Linked DNA regions of Homo sapiens: region 2 is linked to region 1. Evidence: promoter capture Hi-C in human tissues and cell types (Jung and others, 2019). All regions are on one chromosome and are shown on one strand. The core of a region is centred on a gene start or on the middle of the fragment in contact, and the rest is flanking DNA. Distances in the headings are between cores, read along the strand shown.

Region 1 (5,909 bases), core at 2,367-4,866:
ACCTCCAACACCCAGGTTCAAGTGATTCTCCTGCCTCAGCCTCCTAAGTAGCTGGGACTACAGGCGTGTACCACCACCCCTGGCTAATTTTTTGTATTTTAGTAGAGATGGGGTTTCACCATGTTGGCCAGGATGGTCTCGATCTCCTGACCTCGTGATCCGCCCACCTCGGCCTCCCAAAGTGCTGGGATTACAGACGTGAGCCACCACACCCAGCCTAATTTTTGTATTTTTAGTAGAGACGGGGGTTTCACCATCTTGGTCTGGCTGGTCTCAAACTCCTGACCTCGTGATCCACCCACCTTGGTCTCCCAAAGTGCTGGGATTACAGGTGTGAGCCACTGCGCCCAGCCAGATGAATGTAATTGTTTAAAAAAAAAAGCACAAAGCATTTTGTTCTGAAACTATTTTAATGTAAAGTCACTTACATAACTAAATTAGAAAGAAAGAACTGGGATGATATAAGCCAAAGCGTTAATGAGTCAAATTAATGGTGGGAAGAAGTATTTTCTTTTGTTTTATCGATATCTTCTAAATGTTCTATAATAAAAAATCTATTTTGCAATAAGAAAACACAGGCCAGGTGCAGTGGCTCATGTCTGTAATCCCAGCACTTGGGGGAGGCCGAGGCAGACGGATTGCTCAAGACCAGGAGTTCGAGGCCAGCCTGGGCATCATGGCAAAACACTGTCTCCACAAAAAATGCAAAAATTATTGGGGTATGGTGGCACAAACCTCTAGTCCCAGCTTCTCTGTTGGCTGATGTGGGAGAATCACTTGAGCCTGGGAGGCAGAGGTTGCAGTGAGCTGTGATCGTGCCACTGTACTCCAGCCTGCGTGACAGAGTGATGCCCTATCTCAAAGAAAAAAAGGAGAAGAAAGGCCGGGTGCGGTGGCTAACGCCTGTAATCCCAGCACTTTGGGAGGCTGAGGCAGACGGATCATTTGAGGTCAGGAGTTCAATATCAGCCTGGCCAACATTGTGAAACCCGTCTCTACTAAAATGCAAAAATTAGCTGGGTGTGGTGGCGATGGCCTGTAATCTCAGCTACTCAGGAGGCTGAAGCAGGAGACTGGCTTGAGCCCGGGAGGTGGAGCTTGCAGTGAACCGAGATCATGCCACTGCACTCCAGCCTGGGCGACAGAGCTTCGTCTCAAAAAAAAAACAAAAAACAAAAAAACACAATTAACTACCCTTGTCCTTGGCTAACAACCTAAAGCAATAATCCAGAATGAGAGTTTTTAACCTTTACAAGCGTTAAACCCATGCCACCCACTGAGCTAGAAGAGTTCTCCTTACTTACCACCAGAGGGACCCTTAGTTCCTCTGAAACGTGGCGTTTCTGAAGCTACAATCCAGTATAAAGTCTGACACCAGAGAACTCACAGCCATGTCAAACTTATGAAAAATTATTTTAGGTGCTTCGAAAAATAGGTTTTACAGGCCAATCAAATATAATTGTATAAAATTAAGTTTAGGCCAGGGGCGGTGGCTCACTCCTGTAATCCCAGCACTTTGGGAGGCCGAGGTGGGTGGATCATGAGGTCAGGAGATCGAGACCATCCTGGCTAACACGGTGAAACCCTGTCTCTACTAAAAACACAAAAAATTAGCCGGGCATGGTGGCGGGCGCCTGTAGTCCCAGCTACTCGGGAGGCTGAGGCAGGAGAATGGCGTGAACCCGTGAAATAGGGAGCTTGCAGTGAGCCGAGATCACGCCACTACACTCCAGCCTGGTAGACAGTGCGAGACTCCGTCTCAAAAATAAATAAATAAAAATAAAAAATAAAGTTAAGTTTAGGATACTTTAGCACATTTCACAGAAAAAAGGCCAAAGCTGTTTGACATTTAAAATGTCTCCACTGGAACTAATATAGTAAATTAGAGTGAAGACAATGAGCTGTCTGCAAGAAAATATGCAGTGGGACTGTTGATTGGGAACACTAACAGCTTTTAGTGAGGGGAGAATAAAAGCCCATAGATGAGAAAACAAGATGCCAGAAATAAATGTAAATCAACCACCATATCTGCAAACAGCTGGCCTTGAGAAAAGATAAAAATTCCTTGTACTTGTTTCTGGGTATGGAGCTTGTGTTCAAAATGTTTCCGAAGACCACAAGAATGGCAAAAGCATATTGTCTTCAAATGAAGTACAACTTATTTACTATTTTTTTTATTAACTTGTGTATTTTTCTTCCTGATTAGAGAGGCTTAGAGCTTGTTCCCATTTCTTTGGAGGAAAAAGTATAGAATCATTCATTGCTCCCCGTAGTTTTACCTACAGAAAGAATTTACAATGGAATAAACAATTACTGGCTGGGCGCGGTGGCTCACGCCTGTAATCCCAACACTTTGGGAGACCGAGGCGGGCAGATCATTTGAGGTCAGGAGTTTGGGACCAGCCCAGGCAACATGGTGAAACCCCATCTCTACTAAAAATACAAAAATTAGCTGAGTGTGGTAGCGCGCACCTGTAATCCCGGCTACTCAGGAGGCTGAGGCAGGAGAACCACCTGAGCCCAGAACATGGAGGTTATAACGAGCTGAGATCCGGCTACTGCACTCTAGCCTGGGAAACAGAGCAAGACTCCGTCTCAAAAAAAAAAAAAAGTACTAATTACCCATGTGCTATGTCTAGCACTGCACTAACCCTTTCCTTTTTTAAAAAAATTCATCTTTCCCTTTATTCTGACATTATGACATTAAATAAAGTCCAAGAGGTATTGGGCTGGTCCTTGTTTGGTCTCTGCCCTTTCCTTCTTTTCCAAGTGGTATTCATCATGCTTCTCTTGGAAGTCTTCTCAAATAACCTTATGTCTATAACATACTTTCTTCTAGATTCTTTTGAGAGTCTATTTGTGTTAGATCTAGAAATAGAAATGTAAGGCTGAAATGTATTACTATGACAAACTGTTTGTATGTGTGTATTACAATCTTAATTGTGCTAATAAGGATAATTATAATAAATATGCATGATTCAAAAAGGTTAGATGGTTATAATTTAAAAAAAAATTGTCCTTGGATATTCCATTTGATTTGCTAAGCCTCGTGTTCTCTAATTTCATATCTCCATCTCCCCCTACCCCAACCAAAATATATATACACACTGTGTATACATATACACCCACACTATTAAGAGCTGAATATAGAAGCTGGAAATTGCCCTGTTTCTTCCCGCTGCTTGCTACCTTCTTCAGTTCTGGACATCGGCTCCGCAGTGGAACTAGGTAGCCTCAACTCTTATAATGATTCAAGATTTTTCCTGTTTTATAACTTGAGGGAAGCTGGGGAACCTGTTAAGAGGATCCCAGCATTGAACTGGGTCTCAAGTGGAATGTCTCCCACTTTCTGCCTAACCTGCACGTCCATCAGCACCTCATCAATGAGAAACGACTCCTCCGGGGAGAATTTCCCCCTGCCTGGTCCCCTCTCCTAGAGAGCCCTTCGCCAACCCTGGGACAGCCCCAAACGACAGCTCCCGAGCGCCACCCGGACCAGACTCCAGTGCCGCCCTGTCCCGCCACCCTTTTTCCCGCCCAGACTCCGCGTCTTCTGAAAGAGGGCGTGGTCCGCAGGAAGTTCTCACGTTACGGAAAGTAAAGTGTTTCCGGCTCCGGTGTCATGGCCGGCTCCTACCCTGAAGGTGCACCTGCAGTCCTCGCCGATAAGAGGCAGCAGTTCGGAAGCCGGTTCCTGAGAGATCCGGCGCGCGTCTTCCACCACAATGCCTGGTAATCACTCTGCCCCTTCGCCCGGCCTGTCGCTGACCCTCTGTCCCGCCGCCTCGGAGCACTCCGAAAAGCCCCTGACCGCCGGCCACGAGTCAAGCTGCCCTACCCGAGGCACTCTCCAAGGGGAGAGAAACTCCTAGGCCAGCGACTCACCCTGCCCGCAGCCAGGACGTGAGGCCCCTAAGCTGCCCGTTTGATTTTCTCAGGGACAATGTGGAGTGGTCGGAAGAGCAAGCCGCGGCGGCGGAGAGAAAAGTCCAGGAGAACAGTATCCAGCGGGTGTGCCAGGAGAAACAAGGTGCGCTTAAATGGGCTCTCATTGGTATCAACAGCCAGCGTACTGCCGAACGCGCCCTCCCGGAGAGGCCAGGGAACCGCGGCCGCCCAGATCCTTTATTCCTGGCCTGATGCAGATCTCAGGAGTAGAGCGGGACAGGGAGGGGATGAGCAAGGAGAGAAAAGGGCTGCATTGTAACAAAATCTTAAGTCGTAGAGGGTTTTTTTATATATAGTTTTACTTTGGAGGAGGGTAATGTTGTCTTTAATTATGTTTAGTAGATCCACGTTGATATGGCTAGCCAATGACAACTGTGTGGTCACGCGATCATCTTAGAACCTGTACTTTTTACTTGATTTGCATTTTCCATGAGGAGATGTTTTCCATTGAAGCTTCATTGAAGTGATTAGATTCTAAATATTGTTGGGAGGGGGGCTAGTGACTGGTGACTGTGTGTCTATTACTTGTGTGATGGTTATGAGAATTTAGGGCTTTAGTCAAGGAAAGGTGGATGCAGCAGAGTGGAGATAAGTCTGGCCAAAGAAAAGGAGGCCCCTGCTTGAGAGGTGGATGATTTCACTGCAAAATATCCCTAGATAGTAAAACTAGGACTGATTGTTCCAGACAATTGAAGATAGGACTACAAATTTAGTACCCGCTGAAAGAGTTCTGTACAACAAAAAGATTCCAGTTACAAAACATTCACCCTGCATATTTTGACAGCAACTAGATCAAAGCAAGTTAATAGTTGAAAGGGATTTTGAAAATCATGTGGTTCAATATTCTCTTTTTATAGTTAAAGACACTTGGACCACAGGACATTAAGTGCTTTTCCCAGAGGTAAGCAGTCAGTAGTAGCAGTAGTGGAACTAAAATCCTGTTTCTTAGGGAGTCTTGGTTGATTCAGCAGGTGAGTTGTGAGTTGTTAACACACTTCTTAGTGGATTCCAACTTCCATTGTCACTGTCCTGCTCAATTTGTTAGGTTTTTATTCTTTCTACTACACTAGTCAAGGCCCCCTGAATTGGCAAGAGCAGTAAACTGAAATCTGGGACTGTCATGATCACCTTAAAAACAGCCTTCATTTAAACTGTCCATACTTTTTTTTTTTTTTTGGAGATGGAGTCTCGCTCTGTCACCAGGCTGGAGTGCAGTGGCACGATCTCAGCTCGCTGCAATCTCCTCCTCCCTGGTTCAAGCGATTCCCCTGCCTCAGCCTCCCTAGTAGCTGGGACTACAGGTGTGCACCACCACGCCTGGCTAATTTTTTGTATTTTAGTACAGACGGGGTTTCACCGTGCTGGCCAGGATGGTCTCGATCTCCTGACCTCGTGATCCGCCCACCTCAGCCTCCCAAAGTGCTGGGATTACAGGCATGAGCCACTGCACCTGGCTACTTCTAGGATTTTTTAATAGTTAAAAGTCATCTGGCTGGGCGCGATGACTCATGCCTGTAATCCCAGCACTTTGGGAGGCCGAGGCGGGTGGATCACGAGGTCAGGAGATCGAGACCATCCTGGCTAACACGGTGAAACCCCGTCTGTACTAAAAAATACAAAAAATTAGCCGGGCGTGGTGGCAGGCGCCTGTAGTCCCAGCTACTCAGTAGGATGAGGCAGGAGAATGGCATGAACCCGGGAGGTGGAGCTTGCAGTGAGCCAAGATTGCGCCCCTGCACTCCAGCCTGGGTGACAGAGCGAGACTCTGTCTCAAAAAAAAAAAAAAAGGCATCCAAAGATGTAGGAGGACACTTGATAGATAGTAAGTTCTCTGGTTGATTGTTCAAACAGAATTTAGACTCTCCTATAATGACGGATAGGGGCATTAGGGTATAATGCCAGATGGCAGGACTAAATGACCTCAGAAATGCCTTCAGTTCTGGGACTGTGGCTCTACCTGA
Region 2 (5,909 bases), core at 2,212-4,711, 58 kb after region 1:
CTCCCCCTGGGTGCCCGGGGAGAGTACCTTGGGGGCAGCGCCCCTCCTTCCGGAGGGCAGCATCCCCGCGGGGGCGGGGGCTCGGCTTTGATCCCAGGGCACCTTTTGTCCCTGGAGACGCTCTGCCAGCCAGGTACGTGGAGGGAGTGCAGCCCGCCCTCCCGGGCGACGCGCGGGGCTGGGGCGGGCCGGCGGCTCCGGGGAGTGGCGGCCGGGAGCCCGCGAACGCGGGTGGGCGCCGTCGCCTCACTAACCGGGCGCCTCCGGGAAGTCCGGGCGGGGTCCGCCGCTCACACATAGGATTAGCGTCCTCTAAACTCCATCCCTGGGAAAAGCCGCCGCACTTCTCACCCAAACTCGCGGAGCCGAGGGGCTGGGCAGGGGTTGGGCGGGCGCGGGGGCCGGCGAGGCGGATCCGGGAACGGGTGGACCCGGGCGGCCAAGCCCCTTCAGCGCCGGCCCAACCGCCCCGGCCCGGGCCAGTCCAGCGGGGCGGGGGCCGGCGACACAAAGGCGGCGGCGGGTCCTCCGGGCCTCCGGCCTCGGGCAGTCGCAGGGCGCCCCGGGCCGCCGGACCTCCCCTCGCGTTGCGGCCCGTCAGCCGGCGCCGCCCGTCGCCCGCCCTCAGCCGTCCGGCGAGGCGCGGCTTCCTCCGCCGGCGCGGGGTCCCCTGGTTAACCCCTGCCCGGCAGCGCGGCCGCTGATTGGAGAAGGCGGGGCGCCGGGGCAGCGGGGACCCCCCCCCACCTTCCTCGTCCCCTCCCCCTGCTCCCCCACTGTCGGCGCTTCCCCCACCCCCCCAGGACCCCCCCCGCCTCCCAGCCGTGCAAATCTCGCGAGGAAACACGCGGTTTCACTAGTGTGTTTACACCGATCACTACTAATCCGGACCGAACCGATCCGGATTAAGGGGCCGGAGGCGGGTCCTGGGCACCAGCGGTTCCGACCCCCCCGCCCTCCGCGCCGCACCCGAGTGGCCCCCAGCCGAGCGGGCCCCCACCTCCTGGCCCGGCCTGGGCCCTCCTGCGCCTCCCTTGGCCTTTGTCCGGCGCCAGGAGGCCGGTCCCGCGCCCCCCGCGGCCGCCCGGGCCCGGGCCCGCGTCGGGCGCCTGGCTCTGTACGCGAGCCCGGGGATCTGCGGCCTTCGTGCCCCCCCTCCCCCGCCCGCCCTCTCGTGGAGCCCGGCGCCGGCGGCGGCTGCCCGGGCGGGGGGTTGCGGCGCTCAGGAGAGGCCCCGGCTCCGCCCCGGGCCTGCCCAGGGGGAGAGCGGAGCGGTCCGCAGCCGGGTCGGGTCGGGGCCCCTCCCGGGAGGAGCGTGGAGCGGCGGCGGCGGCGGCGGCAGGTGAGAGGCTGAGCCCCGGGCGGGGGAGGACTCCAGGCCTGGGGCATTAACCGTCCTGGGGACCCCTTTGGCCTGAGGAGCCTGCGACCTGGGCCCAGCTCGGGGCCGGCTCCGGACCGCAGCTCCTGGGCGCTGAGGCGGGAGGGGCTCCCTGAGGGCTGCGGGTCGCTGAGGGGCCGGGCAGAAGATGGGGGAGGCCCAGGCGGCCCCGGCCTGGGATTGGGGCCGGCGGCCGGAGGAGAGACGGGGGCCCCCAGGCAGCTGGAGGCCTCGGCAGCCTCCCGGGCGCCCCCGAGAGCCGGCCCTCCCTTCCTCCGTGACAGGTGGGCCTGGAGTTGGGGAAAGTTTGGAGCCGGCGAGGGGCGCCGGGACCAGGCCCCATCGCTCCTGCTTCCCGGCTGTGGGCTGCAGGGAGGATCCCAGTCCAAGGCCCCGCTGGAATTAGACGGAGTGGCTATTTCCTTAACATGAGTTGACATTAAACGGAATAACCGCCGGGGCGTCATTTTCCGGGCCGGGCCTGGGGATGGAGGTTTGGGAAGTGTTGCGAGAGACCTTGGGGTTTGGGAGAGACTGCAACCTTTGCCATTCCGACCTCGATTAGGGCAGGGCAAGACGCGAGGAAGGCCACGGGGGAAACTCATTCTCCCAGTCTCTTTTTTTTCCTTCTTTTTCTTTTTGTAAAGATGCATTTCAACCTTTCTGAGAATTTCCTAATTCTCTCTCTAACCTGCACTTGCATGTGTGGGTGAAACTTTAATTTGTCACCTTTTCATTCCCCTTTGCCCCAGGCTCTCAATCCAGGAAGGGAAATGAAACTGAAGGACTTGTAAGGGGGTTGTTACTGGAGATTGTAGAGTTGTTGGATTGCAGAGGAGAATGTTCGATTCATCTTTTCAGTAACTTTAAAATCACACCAACCATTCCAACTACTTAATAATGTGTTCGAAGGGGTTCTATGTAATATGTTTCTTTTCCACTGTTAATATTAAAGAGAGGTTTTAAATGGGTCGTGTAGGAGTTGGTCTCTTGCAAAGGATGAACATATTTGCTGAAAGTAGCCTGTGCATTAATTGGTTATGGAAGTTTAAAAATGGTGTCCTCCTGCCCCTCCCTGCTTGGAAGAAGGGCTAAAAGCAGATGTCCAGAATCAAGAGAAAACTACTGCAGGGAGTGGTCAGAAAAAGATTTTTTAAAGGGATTGTTATGGAGCTATATTAATTTACTGAGTGAATGGAGGTGGATGGTTTTACCGTGGGCTCTCTATTAAATTTAAAATAATTCCTTTTCTCATGAGCTACTGTGAGCTCTTCAGAGACAGGAGCTGTATAATAGTGATTTTGCAGTTATTTGTAGCTTCTGATTCATCCTATATTCTTTTGAAATTATTGTCAATGATTCATATTTTTAGTTTAAGGACTACTTCCTGAGTGGGAAATAAATATCTGAAGATACTTAGCTAGATTAAGGCTGATAGAAGGAATTTTCTTTTTGCAGGCTAGTTCTTGTTTTGTTCTTTCCCCTGTGCTCAACTTTTACAGAAATTATATGAAGGGTTTGAGGGGTTTATTTTTGCTGTTAAAATCAAATCAGAACTAGGGAAGAAAAAGTGGCTGTCATAGAAGAGGACTTCTGAGCTGCTTTAAAACTTTTCAATATATTACTGTTTGATGCAGCACATAGTAGTCTACCACTTGTATGCTATATTTACTTGAGATTTACCTGCATTTGATCTTTCAGTGAAATAATTACTGTGAGTTTTGTTCTACAGAAAATTGCCTCCTCACATTTTAGTGTTTATGGTTTCACAGCCTACTTTTTCTTTTTCAGCAGAAATGATGGAAGAATTGCATAGCCTGGACCCACGACGGCAGGAATTATTGGAGGCCAGGTTTACTGGAGTAGGTGTTAGTAAGGTGAGTAAAATGATGATCATGAACACTATTCATATTCTAATTTAAACACATTTTTTAAATGATTAAGAGCAATTTGGGTAGGCCCTTCTGATAGTTTGCAGGGGAGAAGATTTGGGTCTTAATTTCAGTGAACTTTTAGATCCTACTGGTCATTCCAGTAGTCATTTAACATAGTAGGTTTGAAAATGTTCTATATGGGAATATATGTTTCTTCTTCCTTTCTGGTATAGGAGAGGTTTCTCATGGTTCTTGTTACAAGGAAACTAACAGGATGTGTGTATAGATTCTATGCCATATTTTGTTAAAACTTGTCAGCCATTCAGAAAGAAAATTACAAGGCATTGCATAGCTTTGTTACATTGGACTTTGGAGGTAGTTACATGGTAGAGTATTGAAAAATTGGCCTCTGTGAAGTCTGCAGACTCTTTACTGGTTGCACCCCCAGACTGGTTTGTTGCTCTTCTCATTCTTCCTTCTTAGTTTTTATTTTTGTTGCAGGAGCATAATATTAGATTAGGCCCCCATTAACGGGCACGTATGAAGTTAAGCAATGTTATAGTTTCCTATGCATGTTTATGTACCCACTGGTCCACCCCTCTGCTCTCATAGGATGATTTTACAATGTGTAAAATGTTTGATTTTAATACAGTATGCAAAGTATATTTACGATATTTTATTTAAAAGCTTTATTGGTCCAAGATCATATTACTTGGGCTTGAGATGTGTGAACGTATGAGCTACTGAATTTTTTTTTTTGAGACAGAGTTTTCCTCTTGTCGCCGAGGCTGGAGTGCAATGGCGTGATCTCGGCTCACTGCAGCCTCCACCTCCTGGGTTCAGGTGATGATTCTCCTGCCTCAGCCTCCTGAGTAGCTGGGATTACAGGTGCCCGCCACCACGCCCAGCTGATTTTTGTATTTTTAGTAGAGATGGGGTTTCACCATGTTGGCCAGGCTGGTCTCGAACTCCTGACCTCAGGTGATCCACCTGCCTCAGCCTCCCAAAGTGCTGGGATCACAGGCAGGAGCCACTGTGCCTGGCTGAGCTTTTGATCTTTAACCAGTGTGATACAACATTTGTTTCTGTGCTTTTCAAGAAATCCTGTCTCATGGTAACCTGGGTGTTGATCTCGTGCTTTAGTTAGTAGCTTCTCCAAGGAGAAGGCGTGTTGAGGTTTAGTTGGAAAAATGGGCTTCTTTGATGGGTCTCACAGTTTTGGTGAGCCGGGATAGCTTGATAGGGTTTTGTTTTTTTTTTTTTTGAGTCAGAGCCTTGCTCTGTCACCCAGGCTGGAGTGCAGTGGCACAATCTGGGCTCACTGCAACCTCTGCCTCCTGGGTTCAAGCGATTCTCTTGCCTCAGCATCCTGAGTAGCTGGGATTACAGGCATGCACCACCATGCCTGGTTAATTTTTTTTATTTTTAGTAGAGACAGGGTTTCTCCATGTTGGCCAGGCTGGGTCTCGAACTCCTGACCTCCAGTGATCTGCCTGTCTTGGTGTTCCAAAGTGCTAGGATTACAGGCATGAGCCACCACGCCCAACCAGCTTGATAGTTTTTGTTTATTCAACAAATATTGAGCACCTGCTGTATGCTAGGCATTGTGCAAGGTGTTAGGGCTGATGCTTGAGCACAGTACCTCCACATCTGCAGTATGGGGAGAGAGAGATGATACCGTGATGAGATCTGTATTAGAGCTGTGACAAGGTGCTGTGGGAACACAGGATTTGTTACATATTCTTAATTTCTTTGGCCACTTAAACAGTTTACTTTTGTGGCACTTTAGAGTGGCTGTGCCCCTGGACGTTGTATACTGAAGTTACATTTACAAATGTAAACTCTCTGATCTAGGTGAAGTAGCTTCAAATAGAAGTGAGCAATATATTTGAATACTAAATTGATCTCTAAATGACCTCTGATGTGTCTTTTTAACTTGAAGATTGAGCATAAGGCTAATGTCCAGATCTGTCTGTTTAAATGGTCCCCCCACCCCCGCCTCCCGTAAGTCAGTAAGTTTGTATTCAAATTTTACATAGTTAAGCTCACTGATCTTTGGATTAGGGTTGTTGTTCTGTTTTTAGGTTCGTGATGGCTGTATTCAAGTATACTTTTGATGGAGTAGGGCATAAGTGATAAGAATGAGTGACATTCAACATGTTGCTGTCTAGACCCAACTTAAAGTCATGTAACTAAGGTATCAGAAAACTTTAATACAGTAACCTATCTGTTTAATAGGAAATTCTACCTTTAACATAGAAAGAAGTTCTCTGTACAGAAAAAGAAATTTACCTATTTCCAGTTTTTTTGTTTGTTTTTGAGAGGGTCTCACTCTCTAGCCTAGGCTGGAGTGCAGTGGCACGATCTCGGCTCACCTCAACCTCCATCTCCCAGTCTCAAGCAATTCTCCTGCCTCAGCCTATAGATAGCTGGGATTACAGGCGTGCGCCACTACCACCCTGTTAATTTTTGTATTTTTAGTAGAGATGGGGTTTTACCATGTTGGACAGGTTGGTCTTGAACTCCTGACCTCAAATGATCCACCTGCCTCTGCCTCCCAGAGTGTTGGGATTACAGGCATGAGCCACTGCACCCAGCTTTATTTCCAGTTGTTTTTATTCCATTAGTTGTTTTTTTTTTGAGACAGAGTTTTG

What was found. The method cuts DNA at HindIII sites, captures the fragments that hold promoters and counts their contacts. A contact is called where the count stands out against the background at its distance.
Region 2: a fragment that was not itself captured here is called in contact with the fragment with the promoter of METTL2A in region 1 in 1 of the 25 tissues and cell types used here (hippocampus).

Annotation. Positions count from the first base shown.
Region 1 is chr17:62,420,281-62,426,189 of GRCh38, forward strand. It overlaps METTL2A (methyltransferase 2A, tRNA N3-cytidine), which reads left to right and starts at 3,617. Exons shown (of 9, transcript NM_181725.4): 1 at 3,617-3,732; 2 at 3,939-4,030. The coding sequence starts at 3,623. RefSeq lists enhancers at 3,350-3,880, 3,632-4,001. The HindIII fragment of the contact is 20,157 bases long and covers 1-5,909 here.
Region 2 is chr17:62,477,949-62,483,857 of GRCh38, forward strand. It overlaps TLK2 (tousled like kinase 2), which reads left to right and starts at 877. Exons shown (of 22, transcript NM_006852.6): 1 at 877-1,342; 2 at 3,173-3,258. The coding sequence starts at 3,178. RefSeq lists silencers at 1-31, 142-281, 462-761, 1,252-1,641. The HindIII fragment of the contact is 7,438 bases long and covers 1-5,909 here.